2 separate regions of the Homo sapiens genome follow, and region 1 is linked to region 2. Evidence: promoter capture Hi-C in 16 types of primary human blood cells and fetal thymus (Javierre and others, 2016). All regions are on one chromosome and are shown on one strand. The core of a region is centred on a gene start or on the middle of the fragment in contact, and the rest is flanking DNA. Distances in the headings are between cores, read along the strand shown. Region 1 overlaps LINC01386 (long intergenic non-protein coding RNA 1386). Region 2 holds the start of TMEM174 (transmembrane protein 174).

Region 1 (5,741 bases), core at 529-3,028, 280 kb after region 2:
TCAGCAGCCTCTCCCAAGGCAGGACTCCATGGGCCAGCCTCTTTCCTCCCCCACCCTGCTTCTTCAGGCCAGCTCTTATTTGGTCTGACAATAAGTCTGAGGTAAGCTGTTACTGGCTGACGGTGTTTGGTGCCTTTCCCAAGAATGGGTACATTTTAACCTGGGCATCCTCTTGATACCACCTTAATCAAGGTTCCAGTGGTGGGTCTTTTATAGAGGGTGTGGTTGGGAGATGAGATTCCTTTGTGAAGAAGATATTTTAGTGGCCTCTAGGTCCCACTAGGCAGCTTGTGCTTGCACGACAATTCCTTAAACAAGCATTTCATGGCCTGAGCAGGGCTCAGAAATCCTCAAGAATTCAGAATGTCAGCAAAAGTCCAAATCTGTGTTTCATAACACCAAAATTATTTACATGGACTCAGAAATTTTCCTTACATTGTTAACCTGGACTGGTCCTCCCATCCTAACACACACCCACACACAGACTTACTTAGCTCCGCATCTAAGTGGTTTGTAGTGGCACATGTTTAGATTTTGTACCCCAAAGCTCAAAAAGTATTTTTTATCATGAATTTAACTGAAAAATACACATATTTCCATTCCAGAGAGGACTCCTCTTGTTGGGGGCTAACTTCAACACCAGACTCTCCTGAGTACATCTTTGCAGCTCTATAAACTTCTGGTATTTGTTCACATTGTCTAATAATTTCCTGGAAATAGACTTAGTATTTTTAGTTATAAGAAGAATTGAAAAATAATATTGCTGTTCTAGAAGAAGGCATTTATTTATTTTGCATTTGTACTTCACCCAGAGGCTGGCTGTGCAGACAAATCTCTCTGCTTGGGAACGACAGGGCTCTCTAAAGTAACTCTAGGGATGCAGCTGTCTACAAGTCACACTGAAAATGAAAAGTATGTTTATGAGGTCATGAGAAAGTCTTGTCATAAGTTGTAATTTTGTGTGTGTATTTAAAAGGTATTTGGTGACCAACCTTTTCTGTCTCACACCCGCACACACACACTATTGCCTGATTTCCAGGCTTAAACTGAGACTGAACTATCACCTGTCTGTTACGCATATGCAAACACACTGAAACCTCATTGTCTACACTCAGTGTGGCACTTCACCTGATACCACCATCTGACACCAGGCTGCAAGTCATAGGTTGCAGTCAGGTACATACACCCCTTTGCAAGAAGGCATTCTCAAAACCTTCCACTAGAGGCACGTGTGAGCACCTTTGCTAGAAAGCTTTGGTCGGCTAGCCTTCCAGAGCAGAAAAAACTGGGAAGGGCCTGAACCCAAAATTTACATAAAAGTAAATACAAATAATGAATGATTCCCTACTCTTCAGAGACATGCAAAATAGGAAAGAGAAAACTCTATCAGATTAGCAAACTACATGAGGATGATGAACATGATGGTAGGAATTCAATTACACACTGCCTGTGGAACTATAAAATTGTACAAACCTTTCAGCAAACAATTTGGCAAAACAGAGCTTGTATCTTAGTGTCCGTTCCCTTGAATCCTTTCATTCTAAGATTCTATTTTATGGAAATAACCAGAAATATGAGCAAATATTTATGTTCAAAATGTTTGCGGCAGTTTTTTTTTAAGAAGCAAAAAAAAAAAAATAGAAACATTCTAAATGCTCGGGATTAAATATATTATTCTCATGATGGAATATTTTGCAATCACTAAAGCGAGGTCCGTGAACAGTTTTAATAACTTGAGAAAATCTTAAAGTTAAGAGAAAGGTTCAGATAGAAAATTACATACAGTATTTTCTCAATAATTCAATGTACTAAACATGCAAAAGACTGGAAGAAAATACAATAAAATGTCAATTGGTTAACTCTGGGTGAAATTATGGGTGGTTTTCATTTTGTTATTTATATTATATTTTTCTATGTTTTCCAAATTTTTCAGCCTGAGCAATTTCCAAAGTGCTGAGTTGAGACAGCTGAGGAGCACAATTAGTGTAAAAGAAAGACTACAGATGGAACAGTTCATATCATTTGAAGCATGATTATAGGAATAGACATCAAGAATTTAAAGCAAGCATAATACATATATCAAAGAGGGAGGGGACTTATTAGTAACATTAAGCAAAAGAAAGAAATAATTGTTTTAAACCTAGTGGAAACATTAAGTATGAAGAAAGTAATAAAATAAAGGGCAAATAGATGGAATACATAGCAGAATGTAGCACAACAGTGTGACTGTTGTCAATAATAATTAATTGTACATTTTTAAAATAACTAGAAGAGCATAGTTGAATTGTTAGTAACACAAAAGATAAAAGCTTGAAGGGATGGATACCTTATTCCCCATAATGGGATTATTATGCATTGCCTGCATATATCAAAACATCTCAGGTACCCCATAAATATATACACCTACTATGTACCCACGACAATTTTTTAAATTTCTTTTTGTTAAAAAAAAACCCTCATCTGGAGCCACAACAATTTAATTTTTAAAAAACAAATATGAAGCAGAATAGATACAACTGAAGAATGGACTGGGTTTGAAGAGTTTGAGGAGCTCTTCCAAAAGCAGCAGGAAAAGACAAAATTCTGGCTCATGAAATCAATTTAGTGCATTTTGACCACAACTGAAAGAGAATAGAACAGAACAGAATGGGATGGGTTAGGATAGAAAACATCACTGCACAGCACATAATAATGCTAAGAATAGTTTGTGAAAACTTTATTTCAGTTATTTTTATTTTTATACTTTTGTGCGTGTGTATGTATACTGAGTTTCTATGTAAAATGATCTCTTGGTTTCCTTGAGCCCAGAAGTTCGAGACCAGCTTGGGCAACATAAGAAGACCCCATCTGTACAAAAAATAATAATTAAAAATGAGTAAAATAATTTCTTAGTGTGGGTTACAATAAAAAAGTTTGAAAGCTCCTCTTTCATTTTATTTATTTTAGATCCAGGAGGTACATGTGCAGGGTCGTTACATGAGTATATTGCATGATACTGAGGTTTGTGCTTCTATTGAACCCATCACCCAAATAGTGAAAATAGTACCTAATATGCGGTTTTTCAACCCTTGCCCTCTTCCCTAATTTTGGAGTCCCCAGTGTGTCTATTGTTCCCATCTTTGTGTCTATGTGTACCCCATGTTGAGCTCCCATTTATAAGTCAGAACATGTGGTATTTGGTTTTCTGTTTCTGCATTAATTCATTTAAGATAATGGCCTCCAGCTGCATCCATATTGCTGCAAAGGACATGATTTCATTCTTGTTCATGGCTGTGTAGTATTCCATGGTGTATATGCACCACATTTTCTTTATCCAGTCCACCATTGATGGGCACCTAGGTTGATTCCATGTCTGCTATGGTGAATAGTGCTGTGATAAATGTAGAAGTGCAGGTGTCCTTCTGATGGGATAATTTCTTTTCCTTTGGATATATACCCAGTAATGAGATTGCTGGGCTGAATGGTAATTCTATTTTTAGTTCTTTGAGAAATCTCCTAACTGTTTTCCACAGGGACTGAACTAATTTACATTTCCACCCACAGTGTCTAAGTGTTCCCTTTTCTCCACAACCCCGCCAATATCTGTTTTTCCCCATTGCTTTCATATCCTCTCTCCATATTCCATAGGCCCTCATAGTGTCATTCCTACTCCATATGCCACTGCTGTGGTAATCAGTGTGCTGTGGAACAACCTGGCCATGGAAATTTTGGAAAAGATGAGGTACATCAAGAAAGCAGTTGACTTTATTGCAGCACTTTGAAATTTTTAGGTTTGTTTTGTACATTGTGACTCTTTCAGAGGACTATACATTTGTTGTAATATTTTCCAAATTTATTTTACTATGGGATACCAGTTTGGGAAATGGCATTCACTGAAATAATGTGATACAGACAGGGAGCAGTAGCTCACATCTGTAATCCCAGCACTTTGGGAGGCTGAGGCACGAGGATCGCTTGAGCTTGAGCTCAGGAGTTCAAGACCAGCCTGGGCAACATAGTGAAACCCCTGTCTCTTAAAAAAAAAAAAAAATCCAAAAAGTTGTAGAGTTAACAGTGACTTTCTAATTTCCCAGATTTAAAATTCTTCTTATTCATTTACTTAACAAATATTTATTTTATTGAGTGTCTACTATGCGGCAAGTACTGTTCTAGGAACTTGGGATACATCAGTAAACAAATGGACAAAGGTCTTCGCCCTAAAAAGCTTTACATATTTAGCAGGAGAAAGACCATAAGAAATAAGTAAACTGAATACCTTAATTAATTAATGATATCATATGTTAAAAGGTAATATTTACCATGTGGAAAAATATAGAACAGCGAAGGGGGCTGGAGGTGGTAGTGGCGGGGCAGCATGGAAAGGACAGGTGGGTGGAAATTTTACACAGTGAGCAAAGACTAGAATAGTGCTACTGCTGGATATCTGGGGGGAAAGGATTCCAAGCAGGAGGAACAATTTGAGCAAAGGCATGAGTAATCTTAAATAAAAATCATCTTAAAGACATGTTACAAACTATTATGTAATTATCCCCAAATGTAGTGGCTTAAAACTGTCATTTCATTATGCTAACACCTTTTGTGAGTCGGGAATTAACAAAGAGAATCAAAGGGTGAAAGCTGTTTAATTTATATCTCTACCAGTCAATGCTAGCTATCAGCTGGGATTGTCAGCTAGAACACCAACATGTGAACTTTTCCGGTGGCCTGGGCTTCCTCACAGACCAGTCTTCCAAGACAATCAGTGGAAGGTGTATTCCCTTTTATGACCTAGCCTAGGAAGTCACATAATGTCACTTCCACAGTAATTATAAGCTACCCAGATTTGAGAGGAGGGAAGTGTATTAGTTTGCTAGGGCTGCCATAACAAAGTACTGTAGACTGGTGGCCTGAATAAGAGAAATGTATTATCTCACAGTTCTGGAAGCTGGAAGTCCAAAATAAAGGGGTTGGTAGGGTTGGTTCCTTCTGAGGGCTGAGAGGAAGGATCTGCTCCAGGCCTCTCTCCTTGGCTCTCCTCTCTTCTCTCCCTGTCTCCTCACATCATCTTCCCGCTCTGTGTGTCTATGTCCATTTTTCCCCTTTTTAAAAGGACGCCAGTCATACTGCATGAGGGCCCACCCTAATGAGTTCATTTTACTTGATTAGCTGTGTAAAGACTGCATCTCTGATTAAGTTCACATTCTGAGGTACTGTAGGTTAGAACTTCAACATAAGAATTTTTGGAGAAACATAGTTTAACCCATAAAAGGAACATAGACCCAACTCTGAATGGGAGGAGTCTTCAAGTCACCATGTAAAAAGTGTGTGGGAGATGTGGGTACTGCCATCTTTGAAAAATATAGTTTGCCACATCATGACATAAAAAGTTTAATAATGAGGCTGGCCGCAGTGGCTCATGCCTGTAATCCCAACACTTTGGGAGGCCGAGGCAGGCAGATCACGAGGTCAGGAGTTTGAGACCAGCCTGGCCAATATGGTGAAACTCCATCTCTACTGAAAATACAAAAATTAGCCAGGTGTGGTGGCACATGCCTGTAGTCCCAGCTACTGGGGAGGCTGAGGCAGAAGAATTGCTTGAACCCGGGAGGCAGAGGTTGCAGTGAGCCGAGATTGTGCCACTGCACTCCAGCCTGGGTAACAGAGGGAGATTCCATCTCAAAAAAAAAAAGTTTAATAATGAGGTCAGGCACAGTGGCACATGCCTGTACTCCAAGCTACTTGGGAGGCTGAGGCACAAGAAT
Region 2 (6,038 bases), core at 985-3,484:
CCCCTTCACTCATCAATTGAGATGATCGTGTGTTGTTTTTTCCCCTTCATTCTGTGAATATACTGCATCACATAGATTGATTTTTGTACGTTGAACCAGCCTTGCCTTCCACTTGGTCATGGCATATAGTCCTTTGAATATGCTATTGAATTCAGTTGGTTAGCTTTAAAAAAAAATTGCTATTTACCATCTAGACAGAGGTGGGGCTTTTGGAAGAAGCAGCTGAGTCAAACGGACCTTGAAAATGTAATTGGAGAACTTTCTGATCTTTCTGCTCTGAAAGCAGTTCCAGTTTGCATTCATGAGCTGTCTAAAGGAGGGTGATCTGTTTCCTCTACTCTCTCAGGCTTCCCAGTTATTCTTAGTGGATATAGCTAAAGGCAAATGGAAAACATAAATTGAGTGATTTAGAAGACAGTTTTGAGATCCTAGCTTTTTTCTAAATGTCAGGGATTGTTTTGACTGTTAACTTAGGAGTTAAGAACCTGAAAATAATGGCAGGCTAACTTACCAGAAATTTATAGTTAAAGAGAAAATCTGGCTTTCCTGGATCTCTGATCTAGCTCAGTGGGAAAAAGGGCAGCCTGTTCCTATAGCAACTCCACTCCAGCCTTGCTGCTCCAAGGCACATCCAGGAAGATACCTCAGGGGTCACCTGCTTGCTTTTCCATCTGTTTGGCAGTGAAGTAGGAGATTACAAGCCTTGTCCTGTAGCAGGGAGAGGCATTTTCATGGGGAAAAATGTCCTTTGGTCTCCTAGAAGCATTTAAGGTTAACCTGGGGTTGGGTTTCCTAAGATTTCTTGATGATGAATCACCTGAGGTCCTTCCCTTGGATATTTGGTTCTGTTGGTCTGAAATGGGAGCTCACATTTTGTCCTTTAAAAAAGTGGCCCATGTGATTTCTTTGTCAAGGGAAGTTTAGGAAGCCCTGCCTTAGGGCAAGACGGCAGCCCTCTCAATTCTGCAAAAGGAGCTAATATAATATTTAATTACTGCAGAGAGCATCGGCTTGAATAAAATCTGTCTAGGAAGGAAAGAAGGCTACAGTTATTAATCAGTGGAGGAAGAAACTCATGGGGCTGTTTGGAAGTTTTGCAGTCATGAATGACAGATAATGTTATTGAAAATTAAACTGTCTTCTCTACATCAACTTGGGTTTGGTTGTAAAACATAGTAGGTTCCAAAACACAGCTGGTTGTTTCACCTTGAAGACCAGGAACTGTGTGGCCACCATGGAGGGAGGGTCCGAAGCATGTGTCCTAGTGAGCCAGGTCATATCTGATGCTTATTCAACCACTGGCAGTGATGCAGTGCATAAAAAGGTTTCCTATGACGTTGTTCCTCTCCCAAAGCTGGAATTACTCCCCAAACGCAGAAAGCAAAAGGCATGTGGGGCTGGCCAGAAAAGAACAGGATCTCAGGGCTTTGTGAGAACTGTTATTAAAGTTTAAGTATCATCACAGCTAGGGGTTCTTGAAGTAGATAGGAATACACACGCAGTCAAGAAATAGGTGTCTGTCTATTCCTAATGAACTGAACCACTAGGTAAATCAGGTTAGACTCCTGTGCATGTGTGGATATATCAAGGGCCCCATTCACTGCTGGAGACCCTTGAGGGAGCTCTGCCATTTCTACAAAGTTGGGTAGGACAAAAACAGGGTCTTATGGCAGCGTCTTAAATTGCTATAGAAGAGTACCTCCTGGGGCCAAGGCAGGAGGAGCACTTGAGTCCAGGAGTTTTGAGACCAGCCTGGTCAACATAATGAGACCCTATCTCTACAAAAAATTTTAAAAATTGGCTGAGCATTGTGATGTGTGCCTGTAGTCCTGGCTACTGGAGAGGATGAGGTGGGAGGATCGCTTGACCCAGGAGGTTGAGGCTGCAGTGAGCTATCATTGTGCCACTGCATTCCAGCTGGGTGACAGAGTGAGACCCACACCCTAAAAAAACAAAACAAAACAAAAAAAAGAAAAGAAAAGAAAAAGAAAGAGAAAGATGGGCTCAATAAGTTAATTTTTGAATGTGTGAATGAATGAATGTGAATTAGAGAGACAGCTTGTCATTGACTTGCAAAACAGAGACCTCCACTTGTTGACAATACATGAGAAAACTTCAGGCTTCATTTCTCAGACCTTTATTCTTCTAAACAAGGTCCAGCCCTCTGTGTGTTACACCCTGTTAAGCACAAGCCCTAAGTTCTTCTATAACTAATTTGGACCTGTGATTCCTTGGTTCTCACAATCCTCTCCACTCTAAGAAGCAGGGTGAGCCCACAAGGAGCAATGGAGCAGGGCAGCGGCCGCTTGGAGGACTTCCCTGTCAATGTGTTCTCCGTCACTCCTTACACACCCAGCACCGCTGACATCCAGGTGTCCGATGATGACAAGGCGGGGGCCACCTTGCTCTTCTCAGGCATCTTTCTGGGACTGGTGGGGATCACATTCACTGTCATGGGCTGGATCAAATACCAAGGTGTCTCCCACTTTGAATGGACCCAGCTCCTTGGGCCCGTCCTGCTGTCAGTTGGGGTGACATTCATCCTGATTGCTGTGTGCAAGTTCAAAATGCTCTCCTGCCAGTTGTGCAAAGAAAGTGAGGAAAGGGTCCCGGACTCGGAACAGACACCAGGAGGACCATCATTTGTTTTCACTGGCATCAACCAACCCATCACCTTCCATGGGGCCACTGTGGTGCAGTACATCCCTCCTCCTTATGGTTCTCCAGAGCCTATGGGGATAAATACCAGCTACCTGCAGTCTGTGGTGAGCCCCTGCGGCCTCATAACCTCTGGAGGGGCAGCAGCCGCCATGTCAAGTCCTCCTCAATACTACACCATCTACCCTCAAGATAACTCTGCATTTGTGGTTGATGAGGGCTGCCTTTCTTTCACGGACGGTGGAAATCACAGGTATGGCGTGTCTACTGGGGGAATGCACTCCTTCTAGCCATCTCCGTCATGATCTGTGGCTGTTTGGTCCATGAATAAGGTGTTGGGAGACTGTGAATCTCTTCTTAGCCTGTTGCCCACGATGGCAGCCTTGGTTCTGTGAATGGTGCTTTGGACCATAATGTACCTGTGTTTTCTGCTCACATTTCAGGCCCAATCCTGATGTTGACCAGCTAGAAGAGACACAGCTGGAAGAGGAGGCCTGTGCCTGCTTCTCTCCTCCCCCTTATGAAGAAATATACTCTCTCCCTCGCTAGAGGCTATTCTGATATAATAACACAATGCTCAGCTCAGGGAGCAAGTGTTTCCGTCATTGTTACCTGACAACCGTGGTGTTCTATGTTGTAACCTTCAGAAGTTACAGCAGCGCCCAGGCAGCCTGACAGAGATCATTCAAGGGGGGAAAGGGGAAGTGGGAGGTGCAATTTCTCAGATTGGTAAAAATTAGGCTGGGCTGGGGAAATTCTCCTCCGGAACAGTTTCAAATTCCCTCGGGTAAGAAATCTCCTGTATAAGGTTCAGGAGCAGGAATTTCACTTTTTCATCCACCACCCTCCCCCTTCTCTGTAGGAAGGCATTGGTGGCTCAATTTTAACCCCAGCAGCCAATGGAAAAATCACGACTTCTGAGACTTTGGGAGTTTCCACAGAGGTGAGAGTCGGGTGGGAAGGAAGCAGGGAAGAGAAAGCAGGCCCAGCTGGAGATTTCCTGGTGGCTGTCCTTGGCCCCAAAGCAGACTCACTAATCCCAAACAACTCAGCTGCCATCTGGCCTCTCTGAGGACTCTGGGTACCTTAAAGACTATAAAACAAAACAAAACAAAAACATCAAACCAATGAAATAAAATAAATCATGTCTCCTGCTAGAATAGTATTGGATACCTGACTAAATTACACAAAATAGACCATAATAGGATAGCGCTGTGAATACATCCTTCCCGATCACTGAGTCACAGTGACCCTTGGCTGCTGCTGTTCTCTTCTGCAAGGTTGAAGCTTGACGTGTGATGAACATGGGTGGGCTCTTGGTCCACCCCAGGCTGGGGCCTGCGCCAAGCATGAACTAGCTGGGACCAGTGGCTGACAGAACACAGGACTTCCCTAAGTACCCGTAGGTCTGTGGAGCAAGACAGAGCAGAGTTGCCATGTCAACACATGGGGAATGATATGATAGAAACAATCTTTATGACTAAAAGAAACTCATCTTCTTCATTAAAAAAACTTTGGTGTCCTTAATCTCTCTGAATTTGGCTGTGTAATAAACAACTGGAACTGACTCACAGACTTTAGAAGAGACAGTTTAAAACCATTAGGTTTTAAAAGAAAATATTTGCTTTGGGCTTCAAAGGCAATGCCACTCAAGGTAAGGGTGGTACATCCTAAAGGAAGACACAGGATTAAGCAATTCTTAAAAAAATTTTGACATAGCGTTTGTATATGGAGCAACTTTTACTAATTTTGATCAGAAGTATCTAGGTTTCCAAGGATATGAGTGAAGTAAGCTTGGTATATTATTGTTGTCATTTATGTTATATCTTGGGGACAAAACCTTTTCACATACACTGTCATGTTTGATGATAGGTGATAAGTGAAAATGATTTCATTTAAAGAAACTAGCTTTATGTTCAGCAGATCCCTGAGACACTGGTCCCTAGCTGAGGGCCATTGGTTTTGGAGAAGAAGTTTGGTGACAAGGACCAGGCTGAGCATCACCAGTGGCATGCTGACCAGCAGATGACATTTTGGGCCCCTCATGCCACCCTTGCCTTGAGTGCTTCTCTGACTGTCTCTCCCCAGCCCCCTGCCATTTTCACCCACCCCATAATTTTATGTTCATAAATTTGGGCTACAATGAACATCAAAAGTAGCTCAAAAAAGAAAATGTTATTAGGAAAAGGGCATCCCCACATACAGCTGGGTAGGGCAGAGCAGCCAGTTTGTCTTGGAGATGCCTAGAGTCAGATATGCAGGGAGGTGGCCTGGAGGGTTGGGATGGTTATTTTCTGGCACCAACAATTCCTGTTCCAAGACAGAGGGAAAAGTGCTAATGTAGAGGTCATTTATGCTTCCAAAGAGAGTGCTTCAGGGCTAATGGCTTCAAGAGCTCGAGGTAGGAGTAGGATCTGCAGCAGTCAGGGATCAGAAAACAGGAATTTGTTCATTAGTGCAATATTTATTTATTGAGCATCTACTCTGTGTCGGTCTGGGTCCATCAGGTGGAAATATAACTTAAAAATGTCACCAAGAAGAGAGCATACATGGTTCTGCCCTTGCAGAGCCTCTAGTCTAGTAGTCTAGTGGGGGAGAAAGATACGGATTCATTATCTGTATTAATCATCTATTAATTATTCTCTGACACCACTGAGAAGTCCTGTAGCCCTAAGAGGGATTTGGACTCATTAAAGGGTCATGAGGCTTGCTTCGGAAGTGAAGTCAGGGTCATTGCCTTGCATAATCCCAGAAAGCACTGTTCACAGGGTGTCTGTGGACCTGTGGAGACTGTGCTAGGAGCTAAAGGAACAGTGGCTGTCTCCTAGACAAAGAGGAGAGGGCAGGAGGGAGGGGCCTGGCAGAGCCCCATGTGGGAGGCAGTGTTATGAGGCATTCAGCAGGTTGTGTAAACCTTTTTATTTTTCTGCTGCTGCAACCCTCAAACAGAGGTGCCTTCCAGTAACCAAGAAATTACACCCACCGATTTTCTTGCTTTGAGACAACCACTCATGCTCTCTATTTCTTTATTTGGGAATTTCAGGGGCCAATCTGATGGGAAGCCCACTGTGTGGCTCCTAAACTCTGACTTCCAACCAGGTCCTTGCTACGTCTCTGACCAGCAGGACACATTCTCGACAGAGTTTCTGTTTTGTTGTCCAGATATTTGCCTTTTATCATTCTTTCACTCAGTATCTCATCAGGGATGAACCATGGGAAACTATGATCTGGGGCACTGATTGGAGTCCAGCTCCTGGCTATGCTCTTCTCCCTTAGATTATCAGTGGAGGAAGCAGCCCTGGCTCAAGGCGGGTACCTGAAGGTTTGGTGTCCAGCCAGAACCCACAGGGCCTGGTCAACCTTGTCAGTCTTGTCAAACA

The links. The method cuts DNA at HindIII sites, captures the fragments that hold promoters and counts their contacts. A CHiCAGO score of 5 or more calls a contact.
Region 1: a fragment that was not itself captured here is called in contact with the fragment with the promoter of TMEM174 in region 2 in 3 of 17 cell types (endothelial precursors, M2 macrophages and total CD8 T cells); the score reaches 7.5 in endothelial precursors.

What each region holds. Positions count from the first base shown.
Region 1 is chr5:73,453,421-73,459,161 of GRCh38, forward strand. It overlaps LINC01386 (long intergenic non-protein coding RNA 1386), which reads right to left. Exons shown (of 5, transcript NR_126410.1): 5 at 770-899. Among named protein-coding and RNA genes, the nearest start is that of FOXD1, 7.5 kb to the left of the region's middle. The HindIII fragment of the contact is 1,057 bases long and covers 1,251-2,307 here.
Region 2 is chr5:73,170,959-73,176,996 of GRCh38, forward strand. It overlaps TMEM174 (transmembrane protein 174), which reads left to right and starts at 2,235. Exons shown (of 2, transcript NM_153217.3): 1 at 2,235-2,911; 2 at 3,102-4,185. The coding sequence starts at 2,286. The coding sequence ends at 3,207. The HindIII fragment of the contact is 4,462 bases long and covers 1-3,943 here.